2 separate regions of the Homo sapiens genome follow, and region 2 is linked to region 1. The links are contacts of gene promoters, found by promoter capture Hi-C in human tissues and cell types (Jung and others, 2019). All regions are on one chromosome and are shown on one strand. The core of a region is centred on a gene start or on the middle of the fragment in contact, and the rest is flanking DNA. Distances in the headings are between cores, read along the strand shown.

Region 1 (5,949 bases), core at 2,368-4,867:
GTAAAAATATTAAAATTTTTTTGTTGTTGTTTTCATGTCCTTTAAGGCATTTTCATGTCCTTTAAGGCAGAAAGAAAATATGCAACACAGTTTAAAACTTAAATGCAGAACGCATTTCTAGCCTAGCACAGACCTGGCGTATGTCAGCTATGTGTGAGAGACCATGTCACGTCCTTTTGCAAGGTAACTCTGGAGCTCCTTTCACCAAGAGACGGAGTCTGTTTCCTCACCCTTTGAATCTGGCCTGGCCTCCTGACTTGCTTTGACTAATAACATGCGATGAAAGTGACTCTCATGACCAAAGCAAAACTTTATGAGGTCTTGACAGCTTCTGCCTTCACTCTATTGAAAAGATTCTGCCACCATGAAAAGAAGCCTAGTCTAGCTTATTGGGGAATAAGAGGCCATGAAAAGAACCAAGATCAACAAGCCACAGCCAACTGCCAGACACGTGACAGAGGCCATTCTGGACCATCCAGTCCAGGATTCTAATTTCAGGCTGTCTTCTCTGCCTTCTTAACACTGCCTCTTGATACCTTCAACCTCTCCTGTGGCTTAAATTATTAATCATATTCTAAATGCCAAATCTGTAATTTCACCTCTGAAGTCACCTATACTCCAGATCCATATATACAAACATCTTTTGGACACTATCATTTGGATGGCCAAAGGTATTTCAAATTCAAGCCCCAAATGGAACTAATTATCTTATCTTTACAACCTTGTGCTCCTTTACCTATAAATATATCTTGATGAGTAACATCCTCAACCATTCAGCCTTAACCTCATTATCTTCCTTGCTGCAAACCCAGTAGGTCACAAGTCCTATCCATTCATTCTACTTCCTCAACATCTCTGGAATCTTTCTCTTCTCTCTATCTTGATTGCTGCTACCATAATCATTTCTTACTTAGATAACAGTCAAATCCTCACAACTGGACAACTGAGATTGGATCTCCAAGTTAAAGGCATGTTACACAGGACCTTAAAAGGCTAGCAGAGGAATCATGACATGATGAAGAACTGCAGTCCTGCTCTTTTCTCCACACTAAAGCCAGAGAGATTGAAAATTTAAACCTGATCATGTCATTCATTCCCCTGCTTACAGTCCTAGAACTCTAAGTCCCTACAGCTTCAGGATAAAACCCCAACTTAGCTTCACATATGAAGTCCTTTATGATCCTTGCCTATTTCTCCAGCTTTATCTCACCAGTTGCCCCCTTGCCCCATCCCAGTCACCATGAATACAAAAAAAAAACACCCTATACACACCTATAACCACACTGGACTGCTTTGCAGTTTCTTGAATGTGACATGCATTCTCTAGCTTCTGTTCCTTTATATAGGCTTCTCCCTCAGCCTGGAACAGGCTTTCCTGTCCTCTTTACCATGCTAAAACCTATATAAACAAAATTCAGGTGTCACCTCGTCTAGATCACCGTTTTTTTGACACCCCTAAAGAATGTAGGTTAGGTTCCCTTTACTATGAGTTCTCAAAGCACAATGTGCTCACCTAGACGACATCATTTAACACATTGAATTTACACAGTGGAGATAATGCATTCAAAGACCCAGCGAGTGGAGTCTGATTATAGTAAAGAAGAATATTACGAACTGAGATTGGATCGCCAAGGTATAGGCATGTTACGTACGACCTTAAAATGCTAGGAGGAATAACGACATGATGCAGAAAAAGACTTCTGCATAAAAGGATGACAAGGCCGGGCGTGGTGGCTCACACCTGTAATCCCAGCACTTTCGGAGGCCAAGGCGAGCAGATCACGAGGTCAGGAGATTGAGACCATCCTGGCCAACATGTCAAAACCCCGTCTCTACTAAAAATGCAAAAATTAGCTGGGTGTGGTGGCACGTACCTGTAATCCCAGCTACTCGGGAGGCTGAGGCAGGAGAATCGCTTAAACCTGGGAGGTGGAGATTGCAGTGAGCCAAGATCACGCCACTGCACTCCAACCTGGAGACGGAGCGAGACTCCATCTCAAAAAAATGAATAAATAAATAAAAGTAAAATAAAGGGATGACAGAGTCAGAGTATGGTTAAAACTGGAAAATATTATGTAGTCTAGCCCCTTTATTTTTATAAAGGAGAAAATTAAGCCCCGGGAAAAGGGCTTCCTCAAAATCACTTTAAAGTTATAGCTTCAGGAATATGGATCTGCAGCAGTGCTTGGAATGCATAAGGGAAAGGGAGAGGCTAGAATCACAAAGACAGCTGAAAGTCAAGTCAATTGTCTAATAGAGCTTCACCCAACAGAACTTTCTGCAAAGATGAAAATGTTCCAATTCTATATTTATTCAATATGTTAGCAACTAGCCACATTTGGGCACCCAAATTTTTAATTTACTTTAAATCCAATTTGTCATATGTGGCTACTGTATGAAACAGCACAGGTCTAAAGCATTTCATGTCCAAAAAGGAATACCTTGAAAAACAATTCACTTCTACTAACAGAAGAAACTAAAACACCATGAACACTTGAAGATTGACTAGTATCACATTCTCTTACCTCCTCATAGCTTGCAGTTCTATCAATCCGGTGAATAATATCAATATTAACATTCCCCAGTCGTTCAGCAAATGTAAGAAACTGGAAGGGAAAGTATATTTAAGATACATAATTAATTAAAATTTATCAGATCTTTAATATCTATTTGAATGCTGCATGTAGGCATCTCTAATCACAAAGGATAAGTGGAAAAATAAACTGAAAAACATACGGCCGTAAACAAATTTACTGCATCACTGTTCAAAGATAATGAATACTTCTATGTTTGCATAATTTCTCTCAGCTATGTCATTTCAAATAAAATTTCCATTGCCAGACTGGTGAGCCTAGGTGGATGCTGGCAATTAGTCTCGCTAGATCTATTAGGTTTCATACCCTCCCATAAGCATGGGGACCTAGCAAAGTCGCTGCAATAAAAGTGTTTTTAAACATATACAGACCTATGATTGTATCCTAAGGAAGACCTGGAAACAATCTATCAAGGGGCAAACAGAGAAAGCGCTGTATATTTGCCCTTAGCTGGGAATCACTCACCGCCAGCCGACTCGCCCAATTCGGTCTTTAAAGATAAAAGAGCAGGGGAGAATTGGTCCTAAGCAATCTCCTGGAATAGTGAATTTAATTCTGGACTACAGGAAATTCCCAGGACTGGCCAGACCCCATAAAACATGGGTGAAACTTGCTGTCCACACTTCTTTCCTCCTCCAACCCATGTTTACTACATCCAGTGTCTCCCTCTTTCGCCGGAGCCTCCAGGAAAGTGACACACTCGGCCCAGAAGTCTGAGGCCCCTGGAGTCTCGCTCAGAGCCTGTCTCACGACTGAGGCAGCGGAGACCCGCGGCTCCCTGCCTAAGCTCCCGCGCTCACCCGGTAGGTGTTCTCGGTCTTGTGGGAAACGGGCTTTGTCTTCATGGCTGCAGAGGGCCAGTGGCCCGCGACGGCCTCGGGAGTGTCGAAGGGATGCAACCGACAGTAAGGAGGGGAAAGCGGCTCACAGGCTATACTCTCCGATTCCCAGATGCCCAGACTTTCTCACGTGCGGCTTGAGCCCCTGGGCGCCGCCATGTTGGAGACAAGGAGGAGCCTGAGTGGGTCACGTGGACGGAAAAAAGAACGGCGCAGGCGCACCCTTTGGTGGGGTGGGGCCTACAGGAGGCGGGGCTGCGCACATAAGGGCGGGCGTTTGGGTGAGGTGTTCTTTTCACTCCCTTCGGTAAAGGTTTAGAAGACAAATGTATTTTCATTATAAAATAAAACATACCTGTAATCGTTATCAACTAACATTACTGTCCCTCACTACGTACCTGCATCGTGCAAAGATCCTTTCATCCATAATTTCACAGTAAAGCTTATTAGGGATGTTAATACAAAGGAGGTACTGCGTCTATCTATATATCTATATATAGATATATACTTTTTTTTTTTTTTTTTTGAGACGGAGTCTCACTCTGTCTCCCAGGCTGGAGGGCAGTGGCGCGATCTCGGCTCACTACAATCTCCGCCTCCCGGGTTCAAGCAGTTCTCCTGCCTCAGCGTCCAAAGTAGCTGGGACTACAGGCACCCGCCGCCACGCCCGGCTAATTCTTTTGTATTTTAGTAGAGACGGGGTTTCACCTTGTTGCCCAGGCTGGTCGCGAACTCCTGAGCTCAGGCAATCCGCCCGCCTCGGTTTTCCAAAGTGCTGGGATTACAGGTGTGAGCCACCGCGCCTGGCCGGTACTGTGTATATTTTTAAGCCAATTTGACACAAGAGGAAACCAAGGTTGTGCAGCTGGTAACTGGCAGTCTTCACTCAGACTCTAAATTTTGGTATTCTTAACCACTACGCTGTAAATAAAATTGAAAAATAGAGAAGGAGTTTTAAGAAAAATCTTTTAATTTCATGCACAACCGCTGTTAATGTTTGGTGTTTTTCCCATCACTTTAATGTCTACACATAGCATGTTGTTAAATTGTACAGTTATATATACATATATGTACAATTTTAAAAAATAATTTAAAAATATAATTATTTACCCCATTTTACATTCATTCATTCATTCAGCAACTATTTCTTGAGAGTCCTCTGTGGACCAGGTACTGTTCTGGGAGCCAAACGAGAAAGGCAATAATAGTATTAATTAATTATTTGAAAATATTCACAGCCTTCAATTCCTGGGCTAAAGTGAGCCTCCCACCTCAGCCTCCCAAGTAGCTAGGGCTACAGGCATGCACCACCACACCCAGCTCTTTTATTATTATTATTATTATTATTATTATTATTATTATTATTTGTAGAGATGGGATCTTGCTATATTGCCCAGGCTGGTATCAAACTTCTGGACTCAAGCAGTCCTCTTGGCTTGGCCTCCCAAAGTGCTGGGATTACAGGGGTGAGCCACCATGCCCAGACTGGAAATACTTGGTCTGAGATGCTTACATTTTAGTCAAGGAGTGATGTTAAGTAGACAATTGGATATATTGTTGTACAGAGCTCACTGTAGCAGTCTGGGCTGCAGACGTGACTTAAATACACCTAAATACCTCAAGTGTGAGGCATTTGCGACTGGGAAAGAGAGCCAGTAAGGTAGAAACAGACTAGTTATGGCATGGAAGCAGAGCTGGTGGCCAACTATACTGCAAATTCGAGGATAGAGAAGTGGTTGCTGGATCTGACAAGGTGAAGGTCACTGGTGACCTTGCTAAGTACAGTCTAGTTGGAAGAAAGGAAGTGAAATATGCATGGATTGAGGAGGTAATCAGAGTTGAGAAAGTGAACATAACACTTTCAAATTGTTATTGGCATTATCACATCAACATTTTCTGTGTCACCACAGGGTTGTTCTAAATATTTTAATGCCTCCATAGCATTTATAGATTTTTTTATAATAAAATATTGACGTGCCTAATGTTCCATTGGCTTTCAGTAGGCTAATAATTGGTCTTTTTTTTTTAAAAGCCTTTTATGGGTCACAGGGAAATCTAAGAAAGCTGTAGAACTTCTCCCAGAAAGATGCAAAGAAGCTCATCCACACTAAAATGTGCACGTTTCAGAGAGTTAGAAGCCTGCAGTTAACTGAGGGTAGAAGCCCCCACTCAAAGCAATATTTTCCCAACCTGTTGCCAAAATCACCCCCACATCATTGTGCCATTTTCCTTCTCTGCAATTTATTTTTGGTAATGGAGTTAACTGGACAATAAGGAGTGAAGAGAAAAATCAAAGAAACTGAAAGAACTGACACAAGTTATATTGACCATTTATTGTTTGCATTGTTCTTCATTACATGACCCTCACACACTGACTTGACTCTGACTGGCTTAACAATATGTCAATAGAACATGGTGGTTGAGAGCATAGATGCTGGAACCAGGTTGTCTGGAGGTAATCCTGGTTCTGCCATTTATTAGTAGGGTCAGTTACCCTTTCAGAATGACATTTCCGT
Region 2 (5,949 bases), core at 2,013-4,512, 53 kb after region 1:
GGAACTGCAAAGTCCTATGACCTTCCATTTACTGAAGAGGAAACAGAAGCACAGCAAGAGTGCTCAAGAGACTTACCTAATGCCACTCCACACAGTAAGTACTGGAATCCGGGACTTGGACTGCCAATTCCATGTGCTTTCATTTGTGACATTACTTTTTTTTTTTTTAAAAAAAAAGAACAATGTAATGTTTCAATAAAATTTAAAATTTTGGTTAAAAATCACCTATAATCATAACCTTCTGATAACTATTATCATTCTTGTATGTTTCCTTCCAACATTATTTTCATACATTTAACATAATCATAGCCATTAACCATATGTGTTTCTGTTTTTTTTGTTTGTTTGTTTGTTTGTTTTTGAGACAGAGTCTCGCTCTGTTGCCCAGGCTGGAGTGCGGTGGCGTGATTTTGGCTTACTGCAACCTCGGACTCTCAGGTTCAACGGGTTCAAGCAATTCTCCTGTCTCAGCCTCCCGAGTAGTCGGGACTACAGGTGCCTACCACCATGCCTGGCTAATTTTTGTATTTTTAGCAGAGACGAGATTTCACCATATTGCTCAGACCGGTCTCAAACTCCTGACCAAAACGAAGTGTTTTTTTAACCTACAATTTAAGTAAATGTTTAATGTTTATTTATAATTTATTTATTAAATGTTTACATTCACCAGGCACTATTCTAAATAAAACAATGTTGCTGTCCTCACATAATGAAGATTCTGGAGGGGTCAACATAGAATACGTACATAACCAAGTAATGTACAACATTCCACCATGATGAAGATAATTTGTTCCTAAATAAAGGTCCTCGTGGGTGAATTCTCATAGGCTGAAAATGTACCTAACATTCATTTTGACAGAAAAGACACTCTTTTCTCTTAAGCCCCCAAATTAACACCTATTTATGTTAAAATAACATCAATCCCATTAAAACAGGTACAATTATCTCAAAGGTAAATGGTTATCATAGGACTGATGTCTGTGCTCATAAAGCATCAAAGCAACCATATGATTCTCTGCGTTTATGTAATTAAATGTTTAATGAAAAAACAAAAACAAAAACATGAGCTCTTTTTTGTGGCACCTTGGAGGCAATTAGCTGCTTCAGGATGAAGCTAAATATCTCCTCCCCAGCCACTGGCTGACAGACACTCATTGGATTGGACAACGAATGGCAATTTTGTACTTATGAGAAGCATATGGCACAGAGGTTGCTGCCGACGCTCTGGAAGAGTTATGTGGTCCGAGTCAGTGGTGGGACCAACGAACAAGGTTTCCTCATGAAGCAGTGTGTCCTGACCCATGGCTGGGTCTGCCTACTGCTACTGAGTAGGGGCATTCCTGTTATAGACCAAGGAGAACTGGAGAAAGAAAGTGCGAATCTGTTTGGGGTTTCATTGTGCATGCCAATCTGAGCATTCTCCAGTTGGTTATCTTAAAAAAAAAAAAAAAAAGGAGGGAAGGATACTCCTGGACTGACTGATACTATGGTGTCATGTTGCTGGGGGCCCAAAAGAGCTAACAGAAATGCAAACTTTTCAGTCTCTCTAAAGAAGACAATGCCCCCCACCCATATGTTGCCAGAAAGCCCTTAAACAAAGAGAGTAAGATACTGAGGACCAAAGCACCCAAGATTCAGCATCTTGTTACTCTACATGTCCTGCAATACAAACACTGGTATTGCTCAGAAGAAACAGCATACTAAGAAAAATAAGAAAGAGCCACAAAATATGTTAAACTTTTGGCCAAGAGAATGAAGGAGACTAAAGAAAAACTCCAGGAGCAGATTACCAGAGACACAGGTTGTCCCCTCTGTAAGCTTCTACTTCTGAGTCTAGTCAAAAATAAGATTTTTTGACTTACTTAACAAATGAGTAAGATCATACCACCCCCAGCAAAATAATCAATAAAGACTAAGGACATTGATGAAAATGATGGAGAAGATGATGACTTCCATGAGTACTTTAAAGGAGAAACTTAAAGCAACTTGTATAATTTTTAAGACTGCAGAGCTGACATGTGGTAACTTATGCTGAATCTGCTCAGTAGCTTCCCACAGCCCCCAAATCTGAATCACATTCCTTCAATGTGAAGAATGCCTCATAAGCTAAAGTTGAGGAACTAAATAAACTGATTAAGTCTCTGTCTTATGACACCTCCCACCCCCTATCACAGTTCTATCCAGGGCAGCATTGACTAGCGTAATAGCAGGGTGTGATATGTGGTAGGACAGATAGGATGGGGAGGACAGGGAATGATGTTAGGTGGAGATGGGGGAATGACAAGGAGTCTGGTGTGAGGGAGCCCACTGAGGGAGGGCTAGGTGGTAGAAGCTAATGCTGGCCAGGTAGCTAGGTGCTAGATTAGAGAGCACCTTGCTAGCCACACTGAAGACCTGAGTACTTTGGAAGCCAGTGGAAACTTCTGAGCAAGGAGTGACACAATCAGACTCACATGTGAGAAGGAGACTGTGGGTGAGGGAGATAAGTTAGGTGACTATTGTGGGGTTCAACTGAAAGAGGAGGTAAAAGCATGGGTCAGGGTTACAATGGTGCAGACAGAGAGAAATAGTTATAGTTTATCTGTAGTTTGAATATAAAACCAACCGGATTCCCTTTGAATTGAATATGATACATCAGGGAAAAAGAGGAATCAATCTTAGTGCATACTCTATGTCAGGCCTTGTTCCTATGTTTTACATATATTCATAACAATAAAAATAATATCAAATGCCTTTCTAATACCTTCCCTATGCCAGATTCTATATGCTTTAATCTACTTTCACCCACATCACCCTTACAGCAATCCCATAGGGTAGGCACTATTATCATTTCCATTTTCTGATGAGAAACTGAGGCACAGACAGGAAGGGCAATGCACACGGGAAATGCTGGAGCTGATTTTAGACCCCAGACGTTCTGGCTGCAGAGTTGAGATTCACAATCACTGCAAACACTGCATTCCATGGTCACAAGGTTTTGGTCCGAGCAGTTGAGTGGGTGATGTTGCTATCGACCAAGACAGGAATACCTGAGGCAGAGCAGGTTTGGGGGAGTGGATAGCGAAGGCCTGGGTTTTTGGCCATGCTAAGTTTGGGATGCCTGTTAGACCTCTAAGTGGAAATGTTGTGTGGCCATAGGGTGTGAAGAATCTGGAGTTTAGGAAAGGAGCCAGAACTGGAGATAGCTGAGCTATATGGAATGTTCAGCTCATAAACAGAAGTTAAAGCTGCGGGACAGGATGAAAGTACTGAGGAAGACTAAGTCCTGGTCACTCCAGCATTCACAGTCCAGAAATAGGAGGAGCTCCAGCAAAAGAGATTGGGAAGGAGTGACCTGTAAGGCTGGAGGAAACCAGGAGAGTGTGCTGGAAGGTAAAAAATTTCTAGGAGGGAATGATCCACTCTGTGAAATGCTGCTGAGAAGTCCAGCAAAGGGAGGATGCTGCCAGATGTCATGATGCTCAGTTTAATTGTTGCATACAACTTCTTCAAGTGGAAGATTTCTCTTTTTATCTACTCTTGCATTTTCAACCCCTTCACATATAGCTCACAAAGTAGAGGAAGAGAGCTCATCTAACTTCAACGTGAAGTTGTTAATTTGAATTCAGTTTAAATATTTATTGGGTGTCAGGTATGGTACTAGGCCACAGAGATTCAGGGGTAAGTGAATCACAGAGTTCTTGCTTTTTTTTTTTTTTTTTTTTTTAGACAAGGTCTCGCTCTGTCACCCAGGCTGGAATACAGTGGCAATCACGGTTCACGGCAACTTCTATCTCCTGGGGCTCAAGCAATCTTCCCACCTAAGCCTCCCAAGTAGCTGGGATTATAGGTACATGCCACCACATGGGTATTTATTTTATTTTTTGTAGAGATGGGGTCTTGCCATGTGGCCCAGGCTGGTCTCTAACTCCTGGCCTCAAGTGATTTTCCCACCTTGGCCTCCCAATGTGCTGGGATTATAGGCATGAGTCACTATGCTGGGAGGGTTCTTGCTCTAGACAATGGACTAAGCAATGAGAAGGAGGAGGGGAGGGAAAATAGGAGGAGGAGAATGATGAGGAGGGGTGCTGGGGAGGAGGGGAAAGGAGAGGAGAGGGAGAAGGAAAGGAAAGGGAGAAGGGAGGAGGAAGAAGTGGAGAAAGAAGAATACCATGATAATATTAATATTAACATTTGGAGGTTGCCTAATGAACTCAGCCAGAACACCCCATAGAAAAGCCCAATGGTTGACACACCTCCGCTTAACAGGCCATAAAGTACTAGGGGGAGAATAAAGGTTTTTTCACATATGCTCATTCTCAAAATAATGATCTCCTGTGCATGCTTTCTCAGGACGCTACTGGATGATATGCACGGCCAAGACAAGGGAGTATCCAAAGAAGAAACATGAGATTCAGGCAATAAAGAATCAGTAGGATACAGGCCAGAATAATTCCCACCATATTTTAAACTGAGATCCCAAGACAACCACTGTGCACCAGGTCTAGATAACAATCAGTCCACATTGATTGCCTGATTTTCAAAACATATTAAGTGGAGGTTTACGCTCTTGGGGAAGAGTTTGGGAAGGAGATTATGGGGGAAGGTTGCAGGGGGTGTTTCATTTTTGATTTTGTTTCTGAGTATGTAGACATTCCCTTAGTTCCCCAGTGTTCAATACAGAGGCCGCCTCACAGTTACATCAGTGTTCCCTGTCCGGAGTCTCCTGTTAAGTTCTGTGAGTAAGACTTCAGTCTTCTGCTAGGCTAGGGGAGGGACAGTTGCCCAGCTGCACAGGGTAGGCAAGGGGATAGGTGAAATGTCCCTTCATACAGATTTGCAACCAACTCTGTTTTTTAAGTCTCTATCCCAACATAGGCCCTGCTTCAAGAGCTATCACAACATCCAATTCCTGCTCCTTTTGGGGCTTCTGAGATACAAATAAGCCTGCTTCTAAGACCTTCTCATGCTGCTGTCTTGAATTTCAGCTTTCTCTGCTTTTCTAAGTGAGTCTCTTCTTATTCACCTGCTTTTTGGATCCCAGAATTATATGAGTGTTTTGTTTTTTGTCTCTTACTCTCTTTATCCTTATGACTAGAGTCATTTTTGTGAAGTTTGGAAGGGAACAAAAGGTAAAATATGTGCTCAATCTGCCACACTGTTTAAAAAGTGGTTTTCTTTTTAAATTACCAAATATATGCATACAGTTTAATATATATTATAAAGTGAATGATCATTAACCAACACTCAAATCAAGAAATAAACATTGCTAGCTTCCCTAAAGCCCCCCATATGTCCCCACCTGATTACAACTAGTTCTCTCCCTTTAGATGTGACACCATCCTACCTTTTATGATTACTGCTTCCTTCTTTTCCTTTACAGTTTTACCACCTATGTATCCATTGTGAAACAACTGAGTTTAGCTTTGCCTGCTTTTGAATTTTATGTAAATAGAGACATATGGTGCATATTCTTTTGTGTTTGGTTTCTTTTACTCAGCTCTGTAAAATTCAACCACATCATCATTACATATATCCACTTTGGTTATACACGGATACCACAGTCTATCCATGTTACTGTGGATGTACTTCTGAGTTGTTTCTAGTTTGGAGTAAATCTTAATGCTATGAATATTCTTGTACACACTATTTGTGCACATATACACACGTTTCATTTGGTATGCCACAAGAAGTGGAAATTCTGTGGCACAGTGCATAAACATCTTCATCCTTCTAGATATTATCCGTTGTTTTCCACAGTGCTTGTACCAGCAGTCTATGCAAGTTCCCAGTGCTCCACGTTTGTGCCAACATTGGTATTGTCTGACTTCAGTGGTGGCTGTACAACCTAACGTGTTCAGCTGGAAATACCTTGTTAAGTTTTCCATGTACCTTCTATCGCTTCATCACTGCACTTTTGGAAAGAGCTTCTAAAACTCCTTTCTTATAGAGGGCAGACCCATAAGGCAA

Evidence for each region. The method cuts DNA at HindIII sites, captures the fragments that hold promoters and counts their contacts. A contact is called where the count stands out against the background at its distance.
Region 2: a fragment that was not itself captured here is called in contact with the fragment with the promoter of UTP20 in region 1 in 2 of the 25 tissues and cell types used here (mesendoderm cells and thymus).

What each region holds. Positions count from the first base shown.
Region 1 is chr12:101,277,773-101,283,721 of GRCh38, reverse strand. It overlaps UTP20 (UTP20 small subunit processome component), which reads right to left and starts at 3,617. Exons shown (of 62, transcript NM_014503.3): 1 at 3,395-3,617; 2 at 2,526-2,606. The coding sequence starts at 3,439. RefSeq lists enhancers at 3,544-3,593, 3,327-3,918. The HindIII fragment of the contact is 9,089 bases long and covers 1-5,103 here.
Region 2 is chr12:101,224,036-101,229,984 of GRCh38, reverse strand. It overlaps the pseudogene RPS6P19. Among named protein-coding and RNA genes, the nearest start is that of SLC5A8, 17 kb to the right of the region's middle. The HindIII fragment of the contact is 6,482 bases long and covers 22-5,949 here.